Linked DNA regions of Homo sapiens: region 2 is linked to region 1. The links are contacts of gene promoters, found by promoter capture Hi-C in blood cells and fetal thymus (Javierre and others, 2016). All regions are on one chromosome and are shown on one strand. Each heading gives the region's core, a stretch centred on a gene start or on the middle of the fragment in contact. The rest is flanking DNA. Distances are from core to core; before and after follow the strand shown. Region 1 holds the start of HMX3 (H6 family homeobox 3). Region 2 overlaps LINC02641 (long intergenic non-protein coding RNA 2641).

Evidence for each region. Contacts are between HindIII fragments. The CHiCAGO score rates a contact against its expected background, and 5 or more counts as called.
Region 2: a contact is called between a fragment that was not itself captured here and the fragment with the promoter of HMX3 in region 1, in 4 of 17 cell types (M2 macrophages, M0 macrophages, naive CD4 T cells and 1 more). The highest score is 8.8, in M2 macrophages.

Annotation. Positions count from the first base shown.
Region 1 is chr10:123,132,723-123,139,663 of GRCh38, forward strand. HMX3 (H6 family homeobox 3) reads left to right here and starts at 3,248. Exons shown (of 2, transcript NM_001105574.2): 1 at 3,248-3,728; 2 at 4,336-6,701. The coding sequence starts at 3,329. The coding sequence ends at 5,009. RefSeq lists enhancers at 115-224, 291-585, 2,463-3,413, 4,596-5,560, 6,601-6,941 and silencers at 2,417-2,536, 2,567-2,696, 3,077-3,156, 3,207-3,616, 3,627-3,676 and 2 more. The HindIII fragment of the contact is 8,924 bases long and covers 1-6,364 here.
Region 2 is chr10:123,405,511-123,412,451 of GRCh38, forward strand. All of the region lies in intron 6 of LINC02641 (long intergenic non-protein coding RNA 2641), which reads left to right. Among named protein-coding and RNA genes, the nearest start is that of LINC02641, 61 kb to the left of the region's middle. The HindIII fragment of the contact is 803 bases long and covers 2,901-3,703 here.

The DNA.
Region 1 (6,941 bases), core at 1,998-4,497:
CTGAGCACAAGCATTTCCTGAGCACAAGCGTTTCGTCCGCTGATCGGCCGGCGGCGCTGAGTCCTGGGAAGACGAATGAGGCAGGCCCGTTCCCTCCTTCCCTCCCCGAGTCCTTCCTGGAGAACACCTAGCCTGAGGTTAGGACCGGCACCTAAAGGATAGAACGAGACGGGGACCACAGAATGGGCCCTAAAACAGGCAGGAAAAGCGGGAAGGAGGATGACAGGCAGGCGAGACCACTTCCTGTCGTGGCCAGGTAGAGATCAGCAGAGATCTGAAGGCGATTTCACCCACTTCTTCTCCCGGGATCCAGAGAAAAAATGCTTTTGTTTTCTAACTGCGGCGGCGAAGGGCGAGACCTCAATGGCTTTTAAACGTCCTGCGCCGGGACAGCGGTTTCTCCAGCGGAACCTGCAGGCTTGGTTCAGAGGCTGTCCCATAGAGGGCGCTGTCTGCCTGACTTTGAATGGAGTCGTGAGCGCAAGAACGCTGGCAACACCTCTCGCCAGACGGCGAGTAAAGGGCTGAGTCCGCGCCCAGACCCGACTCCCACCAGCTTTCTCGAAGGGGAAGGGAAAGATCTACTCAATACATCCCGCTTTTCAAGCCCAGCAATCCCTAAAACTGAGAGGATGGGCTGAGAGTGCTGACACTGGAGAAGCTCCTCTCCCGGGCCAAACACAAGCACATAACAGCGCCCCTGCGCGCCCCTGGGAGGGGAGTCAACCGGAGAACTTGGGGCGACAACCGGAAAGCCGGGATCCGGTAGCCGCACAGCAGGGATGCGGGCGGCTGTCCCGGACTCTTCTCCCGCCACACTGGGCCTGTCCCCTCCCCATCTGAGTCTAGCGCTGGAGTTGTGATCAGCCACGAGTCCCCCTCCCCAGACTGAACCCTCAGCATTCCCAGTTTAAAGTCGACTTTCGTGCGTCAGAACTCTAGCCAAGTTTGCATGCGTCTGCGCTGAATGGCGAAGCTCCCAAAACACACAGGCATACACGCCGGGGTCTCTCCACGCATACTCGGCCGCGTGGCAGGCTGTGTGCAGGCGGTGCCCACCCAACCCTCATAGACCTACGTGCATCGAGCTATTTCTGCGGTTGGGGGAAAATGACCTCTGGGTATCCAGCAGCGATTGGGCGACCTAGGCCCAGTTTCCTCCTCTCTGGGCGCGGGTTTCCACTTACAAAATCCAAGTATGAGACCCACCCTGCTGGGGTCTCAGGGCAGTGATCCGTTCCAACCCAGATTTTGGATGGCGTAGCGTTTTGCATTCCAGTAAAGCCCTGTGTAAACTCAAGGGAGTAATAACAGTAATTGTTTATGGAAGCGCCATTTACGTTTCCAGATTTCCAAAGCAAAAATGGGGTTCGCTGCTGTAGATGAATGCAGAAAGAAACATTACATATGCCCGTCGAGATTTGGTGGGGGAGGGTCTGACGCCCCAGGACCGAAAAACAAAATCTACCTCTCAAGTGGGGACCCCACACGATCACGTCTGCCAATGCAGGGCGGCCTTGAATTAGGCGAGGCTCAATCTAACGAAAAAGAAAGCGGTGGGGAGGTGAAGGGATCCCAAAAAGCCCTCGTGTGCGGGAGCTTCACCAGGGTGGAAGAGGGTGAGGCCAGTTTGTCACCTTTCTCTGATAAGAAAGCTGTCTCTCGGGAGGGGACCTCACAAACAATTCTGATTTACTTGATGCTTAAATCATGAGTCTTAAATGTCTGCCTCATGGGCTTCTCGTGCGAACCGGGGAGCTGTTTTTAAAGCCAGTGGAGTGGAATGTCCTTTCACTAAGCCGTTCTGCAAAGGTCCAGTGTGGTTCTCTAAGGACTTCGCTGCCGTCGAGACGCGCAGCGGATGCCGCTGCTTGCCGCGGCGGAGGAAGCTACGCCGCTGCGCCTTCGGTTCACCTTGCCCCCATTAAAGCGTTAGTTAGACAGCTCCAAACGCCAGCTGGCCGGAGAGACTTCCTGGGAGAAAGTGCTGTCGTCGGGGTCACAGACTCGGAGTTGATCCGCGAGCCTTGGGCACCGGCGGCCAGAGCAGAGGGGTGCCCTTCCGAGAGCAGCCGTCGGTGCCGAGAAGCTGTTGCCCCAGCAGCCCCACCGAGTGACGCGCGGGTTTTGGCCGGGTCAGCGCGCATACGCACACAGGCACACCCACTCCTGGTCCCGGGGGAAGGCTCACTCTTCGGTTTTCCAGGGCTAAAGGCCAAGGCCACGCGGATTTCTGAGTCCGAAGACGCAGTGCGAGGACTTACACCTGGATTCCCTTACTATCGGCTGGATGGTGGGTGGGGAACCCAAATCCCTCTCTTCTTGGCCTCGCCCTTCCTAGCAGGCTTTAGGAAAAATACCGAGGTCGCCGGACCCCAAAGGGTAGGAAAATGATGAGTTCTCCGAGGGCCGAGGTCACGTCCTGCCTCTTGGGCCGGCGCTGCGTGGCTCTCCAGCTGCGTGGGGGCGGCGGGCCCCTGTCCAGCCCCAGGGGGCGGGGGAGCGGCAGCTGCGAGCGCAGATAACCCCGAGGTGACCCGGGAGGGCCTGGTCCGCCCCTCCCCCCTCCCGCAGGCCTGGCGGCGGGAAGCGGGTCCCTGCGCCGCAGGGGGGAGAGGCAGGCGCGGTCTCCGGGCTCGCGGCCGTTAGTGCGCTTCGGCCAAGGGCGCCGCCTGCTCCGCGTCCCTCGCTCGCCTCCTGCGCTCGCAGGAGCGCTCCGAGTGCCTCTTTAGCGGGAGCCAATATCCTTTTGTGCTAATAGGCTTGTCCTCATTTGCTGCCTAATTGGACTATATAAAGCCAATAACGGGCGGGCTCTTATAGCCCGAAGCCAAAGCGCCAAAATCCGAGGGAAGGCGAGGAGGGGGCGGTGGCGGAGGCGGCTGCGGGGCCGGGGCTCGGCTGAGCCTTCGCCTGCCTAATCCCATTTGCCATTGTACGCGCCCAATCGCCGTATACTCCCCGCATTTAACTTGGATGACATTTTGATTTCATCATTAGCATCCGGCGCCGGATTGACGCAGCCTCGAGCCGGGGACTGCTCTTGCTGCCTCCTCCGCGGGAGCCGCAGCCGCAGCCGAGCCGCCTCGATCCCTCGGTGCCGCGGCAGGGCCGCTCCCCGCCCCTCCGCACCCCTCCCTCATGCGAGCCCGCCCGTCTGGGTCCTCACTCCGCCCTCCCGCCGTTGGATTTGCGCCCGGGGCGGCCCCCGACTTTGCGCCCCGTAGTTGAGTTCCGTTTATGGTCTGATTTCCGGCCTCTCGCCTGCTCGCCCCGCCGCCCGCCTGTCCCGCTCCCTCCCTCCCGGGGACCCGGAGGAGAGGGGACCATGCCGGAACCCGGGCCGGACGCTGCCGGCACCGCCAGCGCACAGCCCCAACCGCCGCCGCCCCCCCCACCCGCTCCCAAGGAGTCCCCGTTCTCCATCAAGAACCTGCTCAACGGAGACCACCACCGGCCGCCCCCTAAGCCTCAGCCGCCCCCACGGACGCTCTTCGCGCCAGCCTCGGCTGCCGCCGCCGCCGCCGCTGCCGCTGCCGCGGCGGCCAAGGGGGCCCTGGAGGGCGCCGCGGGCTTCGCGCTCTCGCAGGTGGGCGACCTGGCTTTCCCTCGCTTTGAGATCCCGGCGCAGAGGTTTGCCCTGCCCGCGCACTACCTGGAGCGCTCCCCAGCCTGGTGGTACCCCTACACCCTGACCCCCGCCGGCGGCCACCTCCCGCGACCTGAAGGTACCGACCTCTCTTTGAACTTTCGTTGTCCCCCTGCGCGCCCGCCCCGTCCCCGCCCCGCGCTGCTTCCCTCCGCAGTTCTGGGACCCCAGCACCCGCAAACCCTCTGCTCGGTCAGTTTTTTTCGGCCCCTAGCCTGCCCTCGCGCTGGGTTGCGCTGCCCGTTAATCCAATCCCACTTGGTGAGAAAAGAAGTGGAATTGGAGCCCCGGGCACGGTGCTTCCCGGGAAAAGTGGCCTCGGGCGTGAATAGGGAGGCTTCGGACGGCCGGGGCTTGGGACACGGCCTGGAAGGAGGGGGTGATTCCAATGCGCCTAAGCCGAAAGGGAACCGTTCTGCCGGCCCCTGGCGAGGAAGCTGAGGGAATGGAAGGAGGTGGCCGCGCTACCACCATCTGCTTGCCTGTCCTCGGGAGGAGGGGGATCCCAGGACTCGGCGTCCCTTCTCTGGCCCAGCCGAGAAGGAGGCAGCCCGCGGGAATGGTGAGGCCTCATGGCCTGGGACCTGGAGGCCGGCGCGGGTTGAGCCTGCCGTCCCCAGGCGCCGGGCCTCGCTCAAGGCTGTGTCGGTGTGCATGTGTGTGCGTCCGTCTGTCTGTCTCCCCAGCCTCGGAGAAGGCCTTGCTGAGAGACTCCTCCCCCGCCTCCGGCACAGACCGCGACTCTCCGGAGCCACTGCTCAAGGCCGACCCCGATCACAAGGAGCTGGACTCCAAGAGCCCGGACGAGATCATTCTGGAGGAGAGCGACTCCGAGGAAAGCAAAAAGGAAGGCGAAGCGGCGCCAGGCGCGGCCGGGGCGAGCGTAGGGGCGGCGGCGGCCACTCCGGGCGCAGAAGACTGGAAGAAGGGCGCTGAAAGTCCAGAGAAGAAGCCGGCGTGCCGCAAGAAGAAGACGCGCACAGTCTTCTCGCGCAGCCAGGTCTTCCAGCTCGAGTCCACCTTCGACATGAAGCGCTATCTGAGCAGCTCGGAGCGAGCCGGCCTGGCCGCGTCCCTGCACCTCACCGAGACGCAGGTCAAGATCTGGTTCCAGAACCGCCGCAACAAGTGGAAGCGGCAGCTGGCGGCGGAGCTGGAGGCGGCCAACCTGAGCCATGCCGCGGCGCAGCGCATCGTGCGGGTGCCCATCCTCTACCACGAGAACTCGGCGGCCGAGGGCGCGGCGGCTGCAGCCGCGGGGGCCCCGGTGCCAGTCAGCCAGCCGCTGCTCACCTTCCCGCACCCCGTCTACTACTCGCACCCGGTGGTCTCTTCCGTGCCGCTGCTACGGCCGGTCTGAGGCCCCAGAGGGGTGGGGGAGGGAGCGCCCGGCCTCCTTGTCCGGACCCCGGAGGAGACTGGGCCGGGCCGAGGGCGCCGAGAAGTCCAGCGGCCTTCAGGAACTGGGGCTTGGGCGCGCAGCCTCTGCTTCCCCTCCCCCAGTCGGTAGCATTTTGTAAGTATTTGCAATGCATTTTCGTGCAATTCATCCCTAATGGATTGGAGGCGCTTCCCCTCTTACTTTTGGTTTTTGGCTTATATTAAGAGAAAGCAGGAACAAGACAAAATTTTCGGGTCAGAGATTTCGGCCGATAGTTTTTGTAAAATGTGCAGCCCTCCCTTCCAAATTTCCATTGCGCGGTGGCTTTTTGGTTTTATTTTTATAGAAGGAAAATAAGCGCAAAACCTAAATCCCTCTAGTTTATTCTTTTCTGCTTTTTTTTTTTTTTCCGAGACGGAATCTTGCTCTATCTATTGCCCAGGCTGGAGTGCAGTGGCGCGATCTCGGCTCACTTCGACCTCCGCCTCCCGGGTTCAAGTGATTCTCCTGTCTCAGCCTCCCGAGTAGCTGGGATTGCAGGTGTGTGCCACCACGTCCGGCTAATTTTTGTATTTTTAGTAGAGACGCGGTTTCACCATGTTGGCCAGGCTGGTCTTGAGCTCCTGACCTCGTGATCCGCCCGCCTCGGCCTCCCAAAGTGCTGGGATTACAGGCGTGAGCCACTGCGCCCGGCCTAGTTTATTCCTTTTCTATAGAACTGTTTTCAGAATCCAGAGAGGGAGAGAATTCATATGATAGTACTTTTATTTCTGGATTTCTGGGTATGTTTCTTCCTCCCAACCCCCAAATCAGTTATCCACCTTAATTTTCAAAATATGAGCAGCCTCTCATAAGAATCCCGACTCAGGCCGCTTTTCTCTTCTGGAGAGGTCTGTTGCAATTAGCCTCTTCATCGGTCTTACTTTGTGATGGAAGAATTCTCTAAGTGTCTAAAGAGAAAAGACAGCCAAAAATCAGAACTCTGACTATTTGAAACAGCTCCATATCTGGCCTGGTCTAAGTGGTCTTATTTATTAGTAGCATTTATTTTGAGAATTTCATTTGTAAATTATTATTAATATTACTATTATTACTTTGTTCCCTGTTTTGAGAGAGTAATTTCAGTATTTTTAATATGATATCTTTTATCCTCTCCTCTTACTTTTCATGTTCTGCAGTAATTATTGTACGTTGACCTGTGCAATATTGTACAAAATCTCCTGAGAAAGCTGTTTCCTCCTCCACCGTGGGAAACAGACCTTTTCACTGTATAATCATGGTCATTCATTTAGAAAGAAAAAAGTAGGCAGGGGAAAGGGGGGAAGAAAGAAACAAGCTTAGGTAGTGATGCTCAAAGGAGTAAGTTAGGCATACTGGAGCGCTTTAAGTGAAGGACAATCAATTTAGCAGAATTTTAACTTATTTGATAAATGTACAGATTTCTTGTAAAGTTCACCCTCTACTCCGCAGGGCTCCTGGCTCTGTCACCCAATCTGTTTTCTTTCTGTCGGTACACCTGTTGTTCTGTGATAGTTTGTTTCCCCTCATCTCCCTCACCTCTGCCTGGGTTGAGTCCCTTTTTAAGAAAAAGAGAAAAAAAAAACCCACAAAATATTGTTACACTAATGTTGTCGTGACATTGAATTAATTAAAAAGAAAAGAAAAGCTTTACGTGTTGCCAGAGTGTGTAAGTTTGGACGATTTTCCCTAGAGCAAATGTCTCCAAAACTCTTTTCTGTCTTGCTCGCTGACTGCCTCTGCGCTCTCTAAGTACAACCTGGACGCACAACCCTGTATTCCGGGAGGCGGTGGAGACAGAGGCGGCTTTGTTCGCGACCAGAGGCACTCTCTCCCCTGTACTTTCCGCGGCCTGAAACGCCCAGCGAGCAGGGAAGAATGCTGGGCGGAAGG
Region 2 (6,941 bases), core at 2,052-4,551, 270 kb after region 1:
TGCAGCAGGACAGCCCTTTGGATAATATTAGCTTCCATATTGCTGGAAACAGAAGTCTAGATGCATACATTTTCCAGGGATGAAGTGTCCATATCTAGAAAATAGGCAAGACAATATTGACTCCTTCATGAGACTGTTTAGGAGATAAAGTAACTGATCTAAAGGAGTGGTGGCTTTCCAGAGCAGTGGCTACTGATGTTCCCTATTCTCCTGCCCCACTCCTATTTCCTGAAAGTGGACTGACCTACTCTTGACTCACATTTCTGATGAGCCATAGGCCAGGAAGCCTTGAATTCTGGGGTTTTCAGACCATTGCTTCAGCTACTCACTCCCTCCTTCTCAATACCCTTCATCTCTCTACAACTGATTCTAACCTGCTTCCACTTCATCTTGTCCCACCGTCCTAAACCCTTGGCTTTGTGACTCTGGAATCTCTCTGCTTGCTTTTGCTTCCTTTTCCCCTCTGCTCTCAATGTGTTAGGCACCCTTTCTGTTGCTGGCATTTGGACCTCAACTCTCCTAGCTCTGACTTTACTAATCTCTCCAGTCTTAGCCCCTCTTGTCATCTTGGCAAGAAACTCTTTGCACTAGCCTCACCCTATGCAGTCCAGCCAGTTCCAGGGGCTGATAGAGGGAAGGGGGATGTTGGATATGTTAGGGGCATTTTTATGGTTAACTTCTGTGGTGGAAAGATCATTTGGAAATCACACTGAAGATTATTGTTGGGTGAGTAAGTTGGAGGGGCATTTTACTTTGTATTTCAATACCTGTTTTTATTTATAAGTCACACATACATCTCTTCCCCACTCCACTCCACAACCTCATTTTCCCTCCAAGCATTTAGGAACAAAGAGGTTTCTAAATCCAGTGTAAGTGAAAGAGCCTGAAAACCTGTCAGCAGATTAAACAAAGAGTAAATCTTCATGATTTGGGTTAGGCAATGACTTAGATACGACATTCAAAGCACAAGCAACAAAAGGAAGAAATGGACAAATTGGACTCATAAAAATTAAAAATTTTTGTACCACAGGTGGTGTCATTAAGGAAGTGGAAAGACAATCCATAGAATGGGAAAAATATTTGCAAATAATATATCTGATAAGGGACTCGTATACAGAAAATATAAAAACTGTACAACTCAATAATAAAAAGACAAATAGTGCAATCTTACAAAAGGGCAAACGATCTGAATAGACATTTCTCCAAAGAAGATAAACAAATGGCCAGTAAGCACATGGAAAGATGCTCAGTTTTGTTAGTCATTAAAGAAATACAAAGCAAAATCACAGTAACAAACCACTACGTACCCACGAGATGTCTAGAGCCAAAAAGATAGACAATAGTAAGTGTTGATGAAGATGTGGAGAAATTGCAACCTTCATGCATTGCTGTAGCTACTTTGGAAAACAGTGTGGCAATTCCAAGTTAAATGGAGTTACCATGTGACCCAGGAATTCCACTCCTAGGTATATATCTGAGAAATGAAAACATATGTCCTCATGAAAACTCGTCCATGAATGTTCATAGCAGCATTATTTATAGTAGCTGCAAAGCAGAACAACCCAAGCACCCATCATCTGATGAATGGATAAACAAAGTGTGGTTTATTCATACAATGGAATATTATTTGGCAATAAAAAATAACAGAAAACTGATATAAGCAACAATACTACGACATTAATGAATGTTGAAAAAGTTATTCGGAGTGAAAGAAGACATTACAAAATACCACATACTGAATGACTTCACTCATACAAAGTGTCCAGGATAGACAAACCTGTGGAGATGGAAAGCAGATTCCTTGTAGGGCTGGGGGTGACAGGTGGGAGTGACTGGGAGTAACTGCTCATGGGTACTGGGCTTCTTTGTCAGGTTATGGAAATGTTCTAAACTCAGGCTATGGTTATGGTTATACAATACTATACTAAGAACATTGTTTTGAGTGAATCATATGGCTGATAAATTTTATCTCAATAAAGCTGGTTTTATTTTTATTTTCTTAAAGTCAGCAATTCTTTTCCTTGTCTAGGAATTTAATTCATCCCTGTTAACAAAATGTTCCATTAAAATTAGGGTTGCCAGATTTAGGAAGTAACAGTACAGGAAGCTCAGTTAAACTCAAATTTCTGACAAACAAGCGATAATTTCTTAGTTATAAGTTTGTCCCAAATATTGCATGAGACAAACTTATAATGAAAAGTCATCTGTTGTTTATTTGAAACTCAACTGAGCATCCTGTTTTATCTTGTTCTCCCAATTAAAATGTAATGCAAACCACAGCGTTTTAATATAGAGCTACATTATTTTCAAAATCATCATCTGTCTCTTCATACACATCCCCTAACTCCAGTACCAGAGGTAACATTGTTTCCATTTTACAGAGCATGAACCAGACCTAGACGGATAAAATGAATGTGACCCTTCATTTTATCCATGTGACCCAGTAGCAATGCCGTGATCTGAACCCAGGTCTGCCTGACTCCCAAAGCCAGGCCCCCTCTACTCGAAGTGCAGGGCCCATGGCCACCTTGCTGTGGCCAGTGGTGAGAAACCTGATTCTCTCCTCGTTTGTGTAAGGCGTGGGGGGAGTCTGAAACCTTCAGTCCCCATAACATTCCTAGCAGGGGCTCTGAAGCCTGGTTGCTGAGGGTGCTGGCAAAACAGAACAGCAAGTTCCCATTAGAATGTTCTTTTCTGGGAGGAGATAACAGGATAATAGGTATGTGACTTGCTACCTGTAAAATGATGAGTGACAAAGAGTCACTCCAGATTAGGGTAATTCAGAACGAGTTAAGCCAATACCTGTGCTCCTTAGAGATCAATTTTTATTTTGAGGTGAGGAGAGGAAAGATGAAAGAGATTTAAAATAAAATTCAGTGTTCCCTTCCCAACCTCAAAAAAGCTTGGGAGCTTTGGAGGGAGGTCTCTGAGTGCCTGGTGAGAGATGGTAAATGTGGATGAGGGCAGAATGTCCCTGAAATTAAAGACATGTGGCTTAGGGACAAATGAGACCTCTGCACTGGATTCCTCAATATTTCCTGCATGAAATCTCTGCACTGAATTCCAGTCTCAGGAAGAAACTGGATGTATACATGATGTTTAAAGATGTTTAACATCTTGAACAGGCTACAGTCAAAAACTAAACAGGCCATTGGGGGATAAATGATATTTTTCTTCCTCTCTTCAGTCATCATAACAAATTCCCTGATGGTTGGGTCAATGGAGCACCCTCTTCTAGGGCAACCTACTGTAATGCAATAGCGAGTTTCACTCTGGTATATTCTATGATATGGATAGTAGTTCCTAAATAGTGGTCATTGAACGAGTGTCAGACTGCATCTGAGTCATCGAGGAAGATTCTAAAATATGAATTCCTGGACTCCATTCCTATAGATTCTGATTCAGCAGGCCTGGCTTGGAGTCTAGGAATCTATGATTCTCATTACTAGCAAGCCCCCAAATGGTTTTGATGGACAGCCAGACTGGAAATCCCTGGTAGAGGTGAAGTGTCAAGATGCTCTATGTCAAAATTAAAAGGTTTGCATTAGACAAGGTCAGGATGTCAGCAGTCTTTGTTTTCTGCAAAAAGGCCTTGCTTTTTGCCATGGATCTATTCATGACATGAAAACAATTTTTTTTAAGAAGCCAAATTGTGCTATAAATATATTAGGACAAACGACTTTTTAAGGAACTCCTGCAGGGAAGCTTTTTCTAAGGCATAGAGCCCATTTGTCATCAAAATCTTTTCCCCCAAAGCAAATTTGCTGGAATGGAAAGCACCGCACCCCAGGAGTGCAGACAGCAGGGTCTGAGCTGCAGCCCTTCCTGATTTTCAGCTGGATGAACTTGGACTCATGGCTTAATTTTCTGGGACTCAGGCTTCCGAGGAGGTGGAGGGATGGTGGGGATGGAGGGAGCCAGCTAGGGGAGTAAAGTGGGAGGTGAGTGGAGGATCTCAAAGCCTCTTTCCAGCTTCTACACTTTCTTAGGGAATCCTATTATATTTTTCTTATTCTATTTCAGTTTTTGCAAAGCAGTTCATGATTGCTTCTACTGCCAAATAGCCAACCCCCCTCCCCAACTCCAGCCCAATTTGTAATTAGGCGTCACGGGCAGACAGGCTGTTCTTGACTCCTGGCCAGAAGCTCTAGTCTTTTGTATAAATACATATGCCAGATCTTAAGTGAGTATGTGTTATTTAAAACCCCAGAATTTCAGGGTGACTTTAGTCTACCAAACAGATTCTCTTGTCCATAGCCGTGGACTTTTTTTCCTTGATCAGACATATGCTTCTCCCTTTAGTCTCCCAGTGGCTCAGGAGTCCACTGCACCTGTGGGATCTTGAAGGCGGTCAGAGGTGCTTGCTCAACTCTTTCTCACTTAAATAGCCCTTCCATGAAGCTGCCTGTGCAGACACCTGACCAGTGGCGTGGGGTGCCTTCTGCCGGGGATCTCTTCTTCACTTGAGGCCTGAACGTAAGGCCAAATTCCTCTCCAGTGTCACCAGGAGAACAAATTTATTTTCTCTGCATATGACCTTGTCGCTTTTCTTTCTGCCCTCCAATTTTCTAGCTAGTCAGAGTCATGTGCTGGGCTTGTGAGGTCTTCCTTATTTGATTATATTCATTGATTGTAGCCTGGTTGTACTGACGAGGCTTGAGAGTTCTGGAGTTCTCAGGAATTGATCAACATCACTCTCAGGAAAAATATCGAACTTGGATAAAAAGCACATCTTAAAAAGCAGCTCTGTCTGATTTCTGATGTTGTTGTTATAGCAAAGTGATGTGCTCACCACCTGCTTCTGACAGTGTTACTGGTTTGAGTGTCAATTGAACCTGCAGCCAAGGTCAGAAATAGTGTGTGGTTGGGATGCAGGAAGCTGGGAATTAATCTCAGTATCATCCAGGCACTTATGATGCAACTGGAGTTTGATGATCAATGTCTTTTTGAATACCCTTGATGCTGCGTTCTTGGGTCTCAGTATCTGTTGTTATAAAATCCATTCTGATCACTCAGAAACTGTATAAATACACATTAGTAATCCATTTGATCCAAAGTTGAGGTCACAACTATGAAAGTCACTGCAACGCTTTTAGTGGGAAGAGAAAGTGTTTCCTGTGATGATGGAGACGTCGTCAGTTGCTGACTTCACCCCAGCACAGAAGCCAGTATGGAGTTTAAAGGGTGCTGAGGTGTGGTCAGATTTTAACTCATTTCAAAGGTCCACAAAATAATGGATATGTAGTGAAATTTTACCCGTGGCCCTGGAAAAAGTTTGTAAATTGCAGAGGTGTAGCTGTCACACAAACAGCCCCTTTGAGAATTTAGCCAATGGCTAAAGACACCAGACGCACCCCAGCGTTTAGGAGTCTGCTCACAGAATGAGAGAACAGGGCAAGTTTGCAGCCATCAGGTGCCCCCAAATTCTGCATTCACGTGTCTACCACTGCTCCATGCCTTTGCCTTGCAAGGAAAACCCAGATTTCTTAGTTACTGAACTTGTGGAGAGTTAGGTGCTAATTGGCTGCCAGGGGGAGCGTAGAAATTCCATGGATTACCCTTCGCATCAAGATGGCACAAACAGGTGTTTGCTGAATCCTCTCTCTACCAAAGGAATGCAAATAGGACTACAACCACTAAATATTTAAGGATAGTGGACTACTCTACTTTATGTCTTATAATTTAGGTGATTCCAATTGCTCGCCCTTAAGAGAAGGAAGGAGAGAGAGAGAGAGAGGGAGAGAGACACTGATTCTGTCTCTTCCTTGGAGTATATCTGGGATAGAAGCAGTGAACCTGACATTCCCACCCTGTCTCCATTCTTGTGTGTTGTGGTGTCTGCCCCTCCCAGTGGGGGGCATCTCACGATGCTATGTGAGATTCTGTGGTTTAAAGATAGTTGTGCAACATTGTTCCTAAATGCAAGTCAACTCGGTGTTCAACTTAGGCTAAAGGAAACCTAGCAGGGCTGGATTTTGAGAGACAGAATGCTGGCGTCCAACAGGTGCCCCCAATGGATTTTCCAAGGCTGTGGTTGGCTCTAGGTGATTAGAGCCCCACACAGCCTTTTAGAATCTAACCCCTAATGAAGTTCACCTCTGAGGCAATTCTTTGCTTTTCATCAGCTGTACATTTAGGGTAAGAGTTTTGTATCTCATTTCGCACCCCAAACATCCTCTTGAAGTAAGTAGAGCAGGCATTTATTATTACCCCCATTTTCACAGATGAAGAAATGATTGGATTTTCCCAATCAACAGCACAGGGCACATGAGTCACAGCTGGGCTCCACCCCAGCCTTTATATCCCTAATCCCTCACTCTCTCCACTTTGCAGGTTTCTTCAGGATGCTGAGTCTTAGATTCTTCTGCCAGCCAATAGGCAAATCCACAGGCCACAATATTTACCTCCAAACCACCTGGCAACAGTCATTATCACGGTATCCCTATCGGGCACTGATATGGCTAGGATTTGTGTCCCCTCTCAAATCTCCTGCCGAATTGTAATTCCCAGTGTTGGAGGAGCCCCGTGGGAGGTGATTGGCTAATGGGGGTGGTTTCCTCCATGCTGTTCTCATGATAGTGAGTGAGTTCTCACGAGATCTGGTTGTTTAAAATAGTGAGTAGCACCTCCTGCTTCTCTCTCTTCCTTCTGCTCCAGCCGTGTAAGACGTGTCTGCTTCCCCTTCACCTTCTGCCATGATTGTGTTTCCTGAGGCCTCCCCAGAAGCAGAAGCCTGTACAACCTGCAGAACTGTGAGCCAATTAAACCTCTTTTCTTTATAAATTACCTAATCTCAGGTAGTTCTTTATAGCAGTGTGAGAATGGACTAATTCAGGCACTTAGGGTTCAGACAGTGTGCTAAACACTTCACATACTTCATCTCATTTGATTTTCTGAGAAACTTATTGGTTAATTATCATTATTATGCCCATATTACAGGT